Regions from separate parts of the Homo sapiens genome. Here regions 1 and 3 are each linked to region 2. Evidence: promoter capture Hi-C in human tissues and cell types (Jung and others, 2019). All regions are on one chromosome and are shown on one strand. The core of a region is centred on a gene start or on the middle of the fragment in contact, and the rest is flanking DNA. Distances in the headings are between cores, read along the strand shown. Region 1 holds the start of IFNL1 (interferon lambda 1). Region 2 has its middle 19 kb from the start of ACP7. Region 3 holds the start of LGALS4 (galectin 4).

The links. The method cuts DNA at HindIII sites, captures the fragments that hold promoters and counts their contacts. A contact is called where the count stands out against the background at its distance.
Region 1: a contact is called between the fragment with the promoter of IFNL1 here and a fragment that was not itself captured in region 2, in 9 of the 25 tissues and cell types used here (H1 embryonic stem cells, adrenal gland, dorsolateral prefrontal cortex and 6 more).
Region 3: the fragment with the promoter of LGALS4 here is called in contact with a fragment that was not itself captured in region 2 in 1 of the 25 tissues and cell types used here (thymus).

Annotation. Positions count from the first base shown.
Region 1 is chr19:39,295,136-39,298,347 of GRCh38, forward strand. IFNL1 (interferon lambda 1) reads left to right here and starts at 1,272. Exons shown (of 5, transcript NM_172140.2): 1 at 1,272-1,457; 2 at 1,670-1,747; 3 at 2,829-2,972; 4 at 3,078-3,161. The coding sequence starts at 1,287. The HindIII fragment of the contact is 11,779 bases long and covers 169-3,212 here.
Region 2 is chr19:39,064,110-39,067,580 of GRCh38, forward strand. No RefSeq gene overlaps it. Among named protein-coding and RNA genes, the nearest start is that of ACP7, 19 kb to the right of the region's middle. The HindIII fragment of the contact is 4,534 bases long and covers 1-3,471 here.
Region 3 is chr19:38,811,695-38,815,334 of GRCh38, forward strand. LGALS4 (galectin 4) reads right to left here and starts at 1,251. Exons shown (of 10, transcript NM_006149.4): 1 at 1,148-1,251; 2 at 737-825. The coding sequence starts at 1,192. The HindIII fragment of the contact is 29,723 bases long and covers 1-3,640 here.

The sequences.
Region 1 (3,212 bases), core at 22-2,521, 230 kb after region 2:
AAGAGAGAGCAAATTCTCCTTTCCTCTGCCTTTTTGTTCTATTCAGGCCCTCGGCCAATTGGATGGTGCCCACCACATTGGGTAACAACGGGTCTTCCTTACTCAGTCCATTGATTCAAATGCCAATCTCTTCTGGAAACACCCCAGAGTCATACCCAGAATTAACGCATCACCAGCTATCTGATAAACTTAACCAGTCAAGGTGACACCTAAAATTAACCATCACAATTATAAAAATAACTACTCAGAGAAACATTAGGAGCATGAACTGAAATTAGTTAATGGGACATTCTTAAACCAATGGCAGAAGCTCCTTCTTGGCCAGGAGCAGTGGCTCATGCCTTTAATACTAGCACTTTGCGAGGCTGAAGCAGGAGGATGGCTTAAGGCCAGGAGTTCAAGACTGGCCTGGGCAACATAGTGAGACCCCTATCTCTACAAAAATAAATAAATAAATAATAAAGTAAGGTGGTGGCTCACGCCTGTAATCCCAGCACTTTGGGAGGCCAAGGCAGGCAGATCATCTGAAGTCAGGAGTTCGAAGCCAGCGTGACCAACATAGTAAAACCCAGTCTCTACTAAAAATACAAAAACTAGCCAGGCGTGATGGCATGCACCTGTAATCCCAACTACTTAGGAGGCTGAGGCAGGAGAATCGCTTCAACTCGGGAGGCAGAAGTTGCAGTGAGCCAAGATTGCACCATTGCACTCCAGCCTGGGCAACAAGAGCAAAACTACGTCTCAAAAAATAATAATAACAATAAAATAAAAAACAAGCTTTTTTTTTTTTGAAACAGGATCTCACTCCATCACCCAGGCTGGAGTGCAGTGGCACGATCTTGGCTCACTGCAACCTCCGCCTCCCGGGTTCAAGTGATTCTCATGCCTCGGCCTCCTGAGTAGCTGAGACCACAGGCGCATGCCACCACACCTGGCTAATTTAGAATAAAAAAGAAGCTTCCTCTCTGCCACTCAGGTAGCCTTATCCCTAATCTCAGCCTCCGTCAGGGACTCCCTGAGGCCAGTTGGCTGAAAGCTGCCCAGGGAGTTCTAAGGATTTCAGTTTCTCTTTCCTTCTTGATGCAGCTCCCAGCTCACTTGGCCCTGCCCACACCTGTTCCCTCATCAGGCTCCCAGACGGGCCCCGCCCACTCATGCCTCTTAAGTCAAAGTGGAAATTCTCATTTCCAATTACCTTTTCACTTTACACACATCATCTTGGATTGCCCATTTTGCGTGGCTAAAAAGCAGAGCCATGCCGCTGGGGAAGCAGTTGCGATTTAGCCATGGCTGCAGCTTGGACCGTGGTGCTGGTGACTTTGGTGCTAGGCTTGGCCGTGGCAGGCCCTGTCCCCACTTCCAAGCCCACCACAACTGGGAAGGGCTGCCACATTGGCAGGTTCAAATCTCTGTCACCACAGGAGCTAGCGAGCTTCAAGAAGGCCAGGGACGCCTTGGTGAGTTCCTGTTGCTGTGGATGAACCACTTCTACGGGTGTCCCAATTACTGCCCTTCTACTGTGGGCTAGCCTCTAGCCTTCCAACTATGGCAAACCTCTATCCTTTCTGCACTGGGTTAAACCCATGCTGTCAGGCCAACTTCATCCTTGCTGCTATGAGCTAGCTTCCAGCCATCCTGCTGTGGGCTAACCCCTGCCCTTGCTCTCTAGGAAGAGTCACTCAAGCTGAAAAACTGGAGTTGCAGCTCTCCTGTCTTCCCCGGGAATTGGGACCTGAGGCTTCTCCAGGTGAGCTGAAAGTCAGGCCCCCTTCACCCTTCCCTTGACCCTCTCCCCCCTCTTCTTAAGTGGCCCCTTAGCCTTCTTTGTTTCCCTTGTCCTTCACTCTCTTGGACCTCTCCTCACCTGTCCTGTGCCCCTGCCACTTCAAAACTGCTCTCTTGACTCTGTCCTTCCCCTGGGTCCCTTTTATCATCTCCCATCGGCCCCACTTCCCTAGCTCGCTCACCTGTCCCTGTCACTTCCACTCTCACTCTTCATTTCTCTCCCAAATGTCTCCAGTCTGTCGCCCACCTGTGCCTTTCGTCCTGCTCCACTTCTCCCTGTCTGTTCCCAACACTGACCCCCTCTCCCTCTCACCTGCCTCTGTCACCTGTCCCTCATTATCTCTCACTGACATTCATCCAGCTCATGCTCCCCCCTCATCCACCCTTCTCTTTTTTTTTTTTTTTTTTTTTTTTTTGAGACAGAGTCTTGCTCTATGGCCCAGGCTGGAGTGCAGTGGCATGATCTCGGTTCACTGCAACCTCTGCCTCCCGGGTTCAAGCAATTATCCTGCCTCAGCCTCCCGAGTAGCTGGGATTACAGGCATGTGCCATGATGCCCAGCTAATTTTTGTATTTTTAGCAGAGACGGGGTTTCACTATGTTGGCCAGGCTTGGTCTCGAAATCCTGACCTCAGGTGATCCACCCGCCTCGGCCTCCCAAAGTGCTGGGATTACAGGCGTGAGCCACCACACCCAGCCCTACCCTTCTTCTCTGTGCATGCAACTGTCCCTCTCTTACTGTGCCCCCAACCTGCTTTCTCCTCACCCGTCCCCACCCCGCCCCAGAGAACTTCTGTGACCCCCGTAAGTCCCCTTTCATTTGTCTCCATTTCACTTATCCCCTCACCTGCCTCCTTGACCATCCTGCCTCACCTGTATCCTTCCTCATGTCTTCCCCCTCCTGTCTCCTTCTCCCCAGACCCCTCACCTGTCCCCACCACATGCACTGTGTCACCGACCTTCCCCAGGACTGCCTACCTGTCCCCACTAACTGGGTCTTCTTGCCTGTTCTCCCTCACCTGCTCTTTCTCACCTCTCCTCAGGTGAGGGAGCGCCCTGTGGCCTTGGAGGCTGAGCTGGCCCTGACGCTGAAGGTCCTGGAGGCCGCTGCTGGCCCAGCCCTGGAGGACGTCCTAGACCAGCCCCTTCACACCCTGCACCACATCCTCTCCCAGCTCCAGGCCTGTGTGAGTCCTTGGGGCCCGGGCACCCAGGTCTGTGGGCTCTGAGCAGCATCCTTCCCCTGTGGTGGCCCAGGCTCCGCCTCACACACCGCCCTCTTCTGCCCACAGATCCAGCCTCAGCCCACAGCAGGGCCCAGGCCCCGGGGCCGCCTCCACCACTGGCTGCACCGGCTCCAGGAGGCCCCCAAAAAGGTGAGTGACCCAGGAAGAGAAGGACCAGGGTCTGGGGAGCCAATAGGAGCC
Region 2 (3,471 bases), core at 321-2,820:
ACAGAGTGAGACTCTGTCAAAAAAAAAGAAAAGAAAAGAAAGAAAGAATAAATAAATAAATAAATATGCCCTGGGGCGGACGCAGTGACTCATGACTGTAATCCCAGCACTTTGGGAGGCCACGGTGGGAGGATCACTTGAGCCCAGGAGTTTGAGATTACAGTGAGCCATGATCATGCCACTGCACTCCAGCCTGGGTGACAGGGCGAGACCCTGTCTCAAAACAAAAAAACAAAATTACCTAAGCCCAACATGGAACTCCATTATACTCATAACCAGGTTTGTTGTCGTCGTTGTTAGAGACAGGGTCTCGCTCCATCACCCAGGCTGGAGTGCAGTGGTGTGATCATGGCTCACTGTAATCTCAAACTCCTGGGCTCAAGCGATCCTCCCAACTCAGCCTCCCAAACTGTTGTGATTACAGGCATGAGCCACCGCACCGGGCCCGTAAACAGTTTTAAATTTTTCAGGAATGCAACTACTGGGTAGAACCAGGAATGTGTGTTCATTGTTCACCATTTGGTGCCAGAGTCACAAAGCTGTGTCTGTCTTTATTTGTGGCTCTCCAGCTGGCATTCACAAAGCTTCTGCCCCTGGCACACCCCTAACCCTTTATTATGTTTTATAGCTTAGTTAAGTCTGAGCTTTTTGAACATTTTACTATAAATTACTTTCCGCTTATTCTTTCTTCATTATAATAAGGACATTATCTTGATTAAAAATTTTATTTTGTATGTGGGTGGGTTATATTATCCATAAACTTTATTTCAGGGTGGTAAAGGGAGCATATAAAATATTTATTATAACACTAATCTATGCTAAAAATCAAAACAGCCGTTACCCCTGGGGGTGGGGGGCGGGCGGTAAGAGGATTGACTGCAAAAGGGCACAAAGGAATGTTCTGGAGAGAAATGTTCTCTGCCTTGATTGAGGTGGTGTACAATTGTCAAAACTCATCCAACTGCACACTTAAAGTGGGCGCGTTTTACCGTAATTATAATGTAAATTATACCTCACTCGAGTGGAATAAAACAAATTTTAAAATATCTGCATAGAAACTTTAAAAGTATAGATTTGGCCAAGCATGGTGGCTCAGGCCTGTAATCCCAGCACTTTGGGAGGGCAAGGTGGGTGGATCACCTGAGGTCAGGAGTTCAAGACCAGACCAGCCTGGCCAACATGGAGAAACCCCACCTGTACTAAAAATACAAAATTAGCCAGGCGTGGTGGCGGGTGCCTGTAATCCCAGCTGTCTGGGAAGCTAAGACACAAGAAGCGCTTGAACTCGGGAAGCAGAGGTTGCAGTGAGCCAAGATCTTGCCACTGCACTCCAGCCTGGGCAACAGAGCAAGACCCTGTCTCAAAATTAACAAAAAACATAGACTTGTTCTAGAAAGCAGATAGAGATCTGCTAAGGCCTTGAAATCAATTAAGTGGATTTAGACCAGCATTTAAAAACAAAAGCAAAAACAGAAGAGATTAGAGGCTGGCACTGCCCACATTGTGAGTCTTGCACAAGTTATATAAAACTTTTTTTTTTTTGAGACAGAGTCTCACTCTGTCACCCAGGCTGGAGTGCAGTGGCATGATCTCAGCTCACTGCAACCTCCGCCTCCTGGGTTCAAGCAATTCTCCCACCTCACCCTCCCGAGTAGCTGGGATTACAGATGCGTGCCACCATGCCCGGCTAAATTTTTTTGTACTTTTAGTAGAGACGGGGTTTCACCATGTTGGCCAGGCAGGTCTTGAACCCCTGACCTCAAGTGATCCACCTGCCTTGGCCTCCCAAAGTCCTGGGATTACAGGCGTGAGCCACCGCAACTGGCCAAGTTTTGTAAACTTTAATTATGTAATAGATATACATATATGCATGTGTGCTAGGTTGTGATATAAGTACATGTCTTATTTTGAACTGTAGTCAAAAACATTGAAAAAACTAAAATGGTACTTGCCAGACTTTCAAACATAGATCTCTTACCTCTTTTGCAGCAATGTCTGAGATATGATTAGATCATCATGATTTTATCCGAGAAGACTGACAGTCAGAAGCTTGTGTTTGAAAGAGGATTAAACGTGGTAGAGTGAGTTCTAATAACAGAAATCACAGGGATGGGGAATAAAAAGAGTGTTGGGGTGAGAGCTGAATGCTCATCGTTCATAATGATGTCTATATTTGATCAATCCAGAATTAACATGACAAACCTGGAAAAATACTTCCAAATTGCATCACATGCAAAGGGCTAATTTTAATAGATTTCCCACAAATGAATAAGAAAAGGAACAATCTCATCAGGGGAAAAAATACACAGAGAATGTGAACAAATAGTTCATAGAAAAGGAAATAAGAATGGCTCTTAAGTCCGGGCGCCGTGGCTCACGCCTGTAACTCCAGCACTTTGGGAGGCTGAGGTGAGTGGATCACTTGAGGTCAGGAGTTCGAGACCAGCCTGGCCAACATAATGAAACCCTGTCTCCACTAAAAATACAAAAATTAGTCGGGCGTGGTGGTGGGGGTCTGTAATCCCAGCTACTCGGGAGGCTGAGACAGGAGAATCGCTTGAACTCAGGAGGCAGAGGTTGCAGTGAGCCGAGATCGCACCACTGCATTCCAGCCTGGGCAACAGAGCGAGACCGTCTTTTTTTTTTTTTTTTTTTCTGAGACGGAGTCTCGCTCTGTCACCCAAGCTGGAGTGCAGTGGTGCGATCTCAGCTCACTGCAAGCTCCACCTCCCGGGTTCACGCCATTCTCCTGCCTCAGCCTCCCGAGTAGCTGGGACTACAGGCGCCTGCCACCGCGCCTGGCTAATTTTTTGTATTTTTAGTAGAGACGGGGTTTCACCATGTTAGCCAGGATGGTCTCGATCTCCTGACCTCGTGATTCACCCGCCTCGGCCTCCCAAAGTGCTGGGATTACAGGTGTGAGCCACCATGCCCGGCTGCCACACACTTTTAAATGACCAGATCTCTTGAGAACTCACTCACTACCAAGGGGATGGTGCTCACCCATTCATGAAGGATCCACCCCATGATCCAATCACCTCCCACCAGGCTCCACCTCCAATGTTGGAAATTGCAATTCAACATGAGATTGGTGGTGATAGCACCTAGACTATATCGGCCACGGTACCTAGAGCATAACGTGCAGTGATGAAAAACAAATCCAACAGCTTGTCAAGGTCATCAGTGACTTCCATGGTGCCAAATCCAAAGTTCAATTCTTTTTTTTTTTTTTTTTTGAGATGAAGTCCCTCTCTGTCACCCTCTCTGTCCAGGCTGGAGTGCAGTGGTACAATCTCAGCTCACTGCAACCTTGGCCTCCTGGGTTCAAGCGATTCTGCTGCCTCAGTCTCCTCTGTAGCTGGGACTACAGGCATGTGCCACCACACCTGGCTAATTTTTGTATTTTTAGTAGAGATGGGGTTTCACCGTGTTGGCCAGGCTGGTCTCAAACTCCTGACCTCAAGTGATCCG
Region 3 (3,640 bases), core at 1-2,500, 250 kb before region 2:
TCAACGTGTTAAGGCCCTTTTTAAAAAGCTAAGACTGGGCCAGGCGCAGTGGCTCACGCCTGTAATCCCAGCACTTTGGGAGGCCGAGATGGGAGGATCACTTGAGGTCAGGAGTTCGAGACCAGCCTGACCAACATGGTGAAACCCCATCTCTACTAAAAATACAAAAATTAGCCAGTGTGCTGGCACATGCCTGTAATCCCAGCTACTCAAGAGGCTGAGGCAGGAGAATCGCTTGAACCTGGGAGACAGAGGTTGCAGTGAGCCAAGATCATGCCATTGCACTCCAGCCTGGGCGACAAGAGCAAAACTCCATCTCAAAACAAAAAAAAAAACAAAAAAAACAAAAACAGAAAAGAAAAGAAAATGAAGCACAGAGAGGTATAGTCACTTTCACTCTTTCACCAACACAGAGCTGGGGAGTGGCAGAGCTGGGATTTTAACTCGGGGACCCGGCTCTGAGCCTGTGATCTGAATTCCTGCCATTGCACCCATCAGCTTCAGTCTAATGTCCAACTCAGGGACTGCCTCTCACGGTGAGCCCTCCCTGAACCTTCTGGCCCCCACGTCCCCACTCCTGATCTGCCCCAGATTCATCTCTGGCTATTGGGTGGGGCAGAAAAAGAGTCCCCTCTCCACCAGGGTGGGGTAAGGGCAGAAAGCCCCCAACAGCCAGGCCCAGAGCACCCAGTTGGAAGTCCCCTGCCAGCCCGGCCTGGCTTGGGGAGGGTCTTACCGCTTCATGTGCTCGCTGGCCACTCCTTGGATGTAAACAGACATTCCCACGTTGAGCCCGCCCGGGATGGGCTGGTAGTAAGGCAGCGTCTGGAGAAGAGGCCTGGTGAGGGGACTCACAAGCCATCTGCCTGTTGCAGCCTTTACCCCTCCCAGAAAAGCCCCCCAGTCCCTTAAGCAGGAGAGAGGAAACCATGGGGGAGGACCAGGTTGAAGATGACGAGGGCCAACAGTTAGACGTGGACACAGACAGCCTGAGGTCAGGGTAGGAGTAAATCGAGGGTCGGGGTCAGCTTTGGGTAAATCAGACCACAGAGTCAGATGGGGCCCCCCAGGATCAGAGTGGGGAAAATTGGTGTGAGGGCTTATGGACGGAGCTGCGGGCGGAGTGGGGCCTGAGCTGGCATCTCACCGGGTTGTAGGTGGGCTGGTAGCCCGGTGCGGGGACATAGGCCATCGCTCGAGGCTGCGCTAGTGGCTGGTCCTGTGAGAAGAGCTGCAGGAGTGGGAGATGGTGGCGGATGGCAGGCGGTGGTGGCTCTTATACCCAGGGTAAGGGAGTGGCTGGCAGGGGAGGGTCCACAGGGCTCCTCTTCTGGGACTCTCAGGCTGTCGGCTTCTCCTAGAGCGCACCCTAGTCTCCCTTCCCTTGCCAGCTTCCCTGGTGACCAGCCAGGACCCAAATCACCTGGGTCCCCTCCCCTACGCCCTCCTGCAAAGAGGAAGTGCTCATGAACTTCGGCCCTGCCAGGGCCTTATCAGAGCCCATAAAACCCTGCCCAGACTTCTGTTGGCAGAGGGAGGGTGAGACCAGGCAGGGCAGGGCAGGCTGCAGGAATGACCCAGGACAGGTGGGCAGCGGAGGAGGAGAACGCGGAGGAACTGCAAATTCCTGCCTCTCCCAGCAACTGTGAAGGGACCTACGTTGATTGCGTGCCCACCACACATCTTTACCACGTATGTTGTATTGTAGGGAGAGTGGTTTAGATTACTAGTGTGTGGAGCCAGAGGTTCTAGGTTCAAATCCTGCCTTTGCCACTTCTCAGCTGTATGATCATGGGTCAGTGCCTTACCCTCAATTTGCCCATGTGCTCATCTGTAAAATGGGGATATAGTAGTATCGGCTGGGTGCAGTGGCTCATGCCTGTAATCCCAGCACTTTGACTGGCCGAGGTGGATGGATCACCTGAGGGCAGGAGTTCGAGACCAGCCTGGCAAAATCCCAGTCTCTACTAAAAATACAAAAATTAGCCAGGCATGGTGGTGGGTGCCTATAATCCCATCTACTTGGAGGCTGAGGCAGGAGAATCACTTGAACCTGAGTGGAGGAGAGTGCAGTGAGCCAAGGTCACGCCACTGCACTCCAGCTTGGATGACAGATGGAGACTCTGTTTCAAAAAAAAAAAAAAAAAAAAAGGAATTCATAAGAGAGGAAACAAGTATTGAATAGCTATCAAAATATTTTAAAAATGAATTTGTGATCCAGTAATGCCTGTATGTTATTAATCTGCCAAATAAGTTCTAGCTGTGGGTCCAACTGCCACTCAGAAAAATAAATAAATAAAGAAAAGAGTAGTATCAACCTTAGGCTGGGTGTGGTGGCTTGTGCCTACAATCCCAGCAATTTGGGAAGCTGAAGCAGGAGGACTGCTTGAGCCCAGGAGTTCAAGACCAGCCTGGGCAACATAGTGAGACCCCCATCTCTACAAAAATAAAATAAAAATTAGCTGGGCATGGTAGCACACATCTGTATTCCTAGCTACTCAGAGGCTGAGGCAGGAGGATCGCTTGAACCCAGGAGTTAAGGTTACAGTGAGCTATGATCATGCCACTGCACTCCAGCCTGGGTGACAGACTAAGAGTCCGTCTCTAAAAATAGCAACAATAATAGTCATAATAATAATAATCATAATAGTATCAACTTCATAGAGTCCTTGATCATTAAGATAATAAATGCTCAGAACAGGACATAGCATATAGAAGTCATTAACTTAATGCTTGGTCTCTTGCAGTCATTCCAAACATAAATCCGGAAGATTGGGATGATATATGGATAAAAAATCCCAAAGTTTTGTTTGCTCATTTTTGAGACAGAGTCTTGCTCTATCACCCAGGCTGCAGTGCAGTGGCACCATCTCAGCTCACTGCAACCTCCACCTCCCAGGTTCAAGGGATTCTCCTGCCTCAGCCTTCTGAATAGCTGGGATTACAGGCTTACTCCACGCCTGGCTAATTTTTGTATTTTTAGTAGAGACCAGGTTTTGCCATGTTGGCCAGGCTGGTCTCAAACTCCTGACCTCAAGTGATCCACCTGCCTCAACCTCCCAAAGTGCTGGAATTACAGGCATGAGCCACTGCACCCGGCCAGAAACCCCAAAGTCCTTTTTTGTTTTGTTTTTTCTTTTTTTGAGACAGAGTCTCACTCTGTCACCCAGGCTGGACTGCAGCAGCATGATCTCAGCTCACTGCAAACTCACCTCCTGGGTTCAAGGATTCTCCTGCCTCAGCCTCCCGAGTAGCTGGGACTAGAGGCACCTGCCACCACACCTAGCTAATTTTTGTATTTTTAGTAGAGACTGGGTTTCAACATGTTGACTAGGCTGGTTGCAAACTCCTGAGCTCAGGCAATCCACCTGCGTCAGCCTCCAAAAGTGCTGGGATTACAGGTGTGAGACGCCAGCATCAGATCCCATGTGCTGTGCAGTGAGAGGTGCCAGGCAGGGCACGAACGCCACCCTCAACCCCAGGGCAGGCAGGGAGACCAGGAAGCCTTGCAACCCAGAGGGACCCCAGCGACTTTTGCTCACTCCCTCCGCCCCGGAATTCCTTGTGCCCCTCGCCTGCCCGCTGCCAGTCTGAATGGCCATCACCTCCATGCCACCCATTCCCATGCATCCAACCTCTA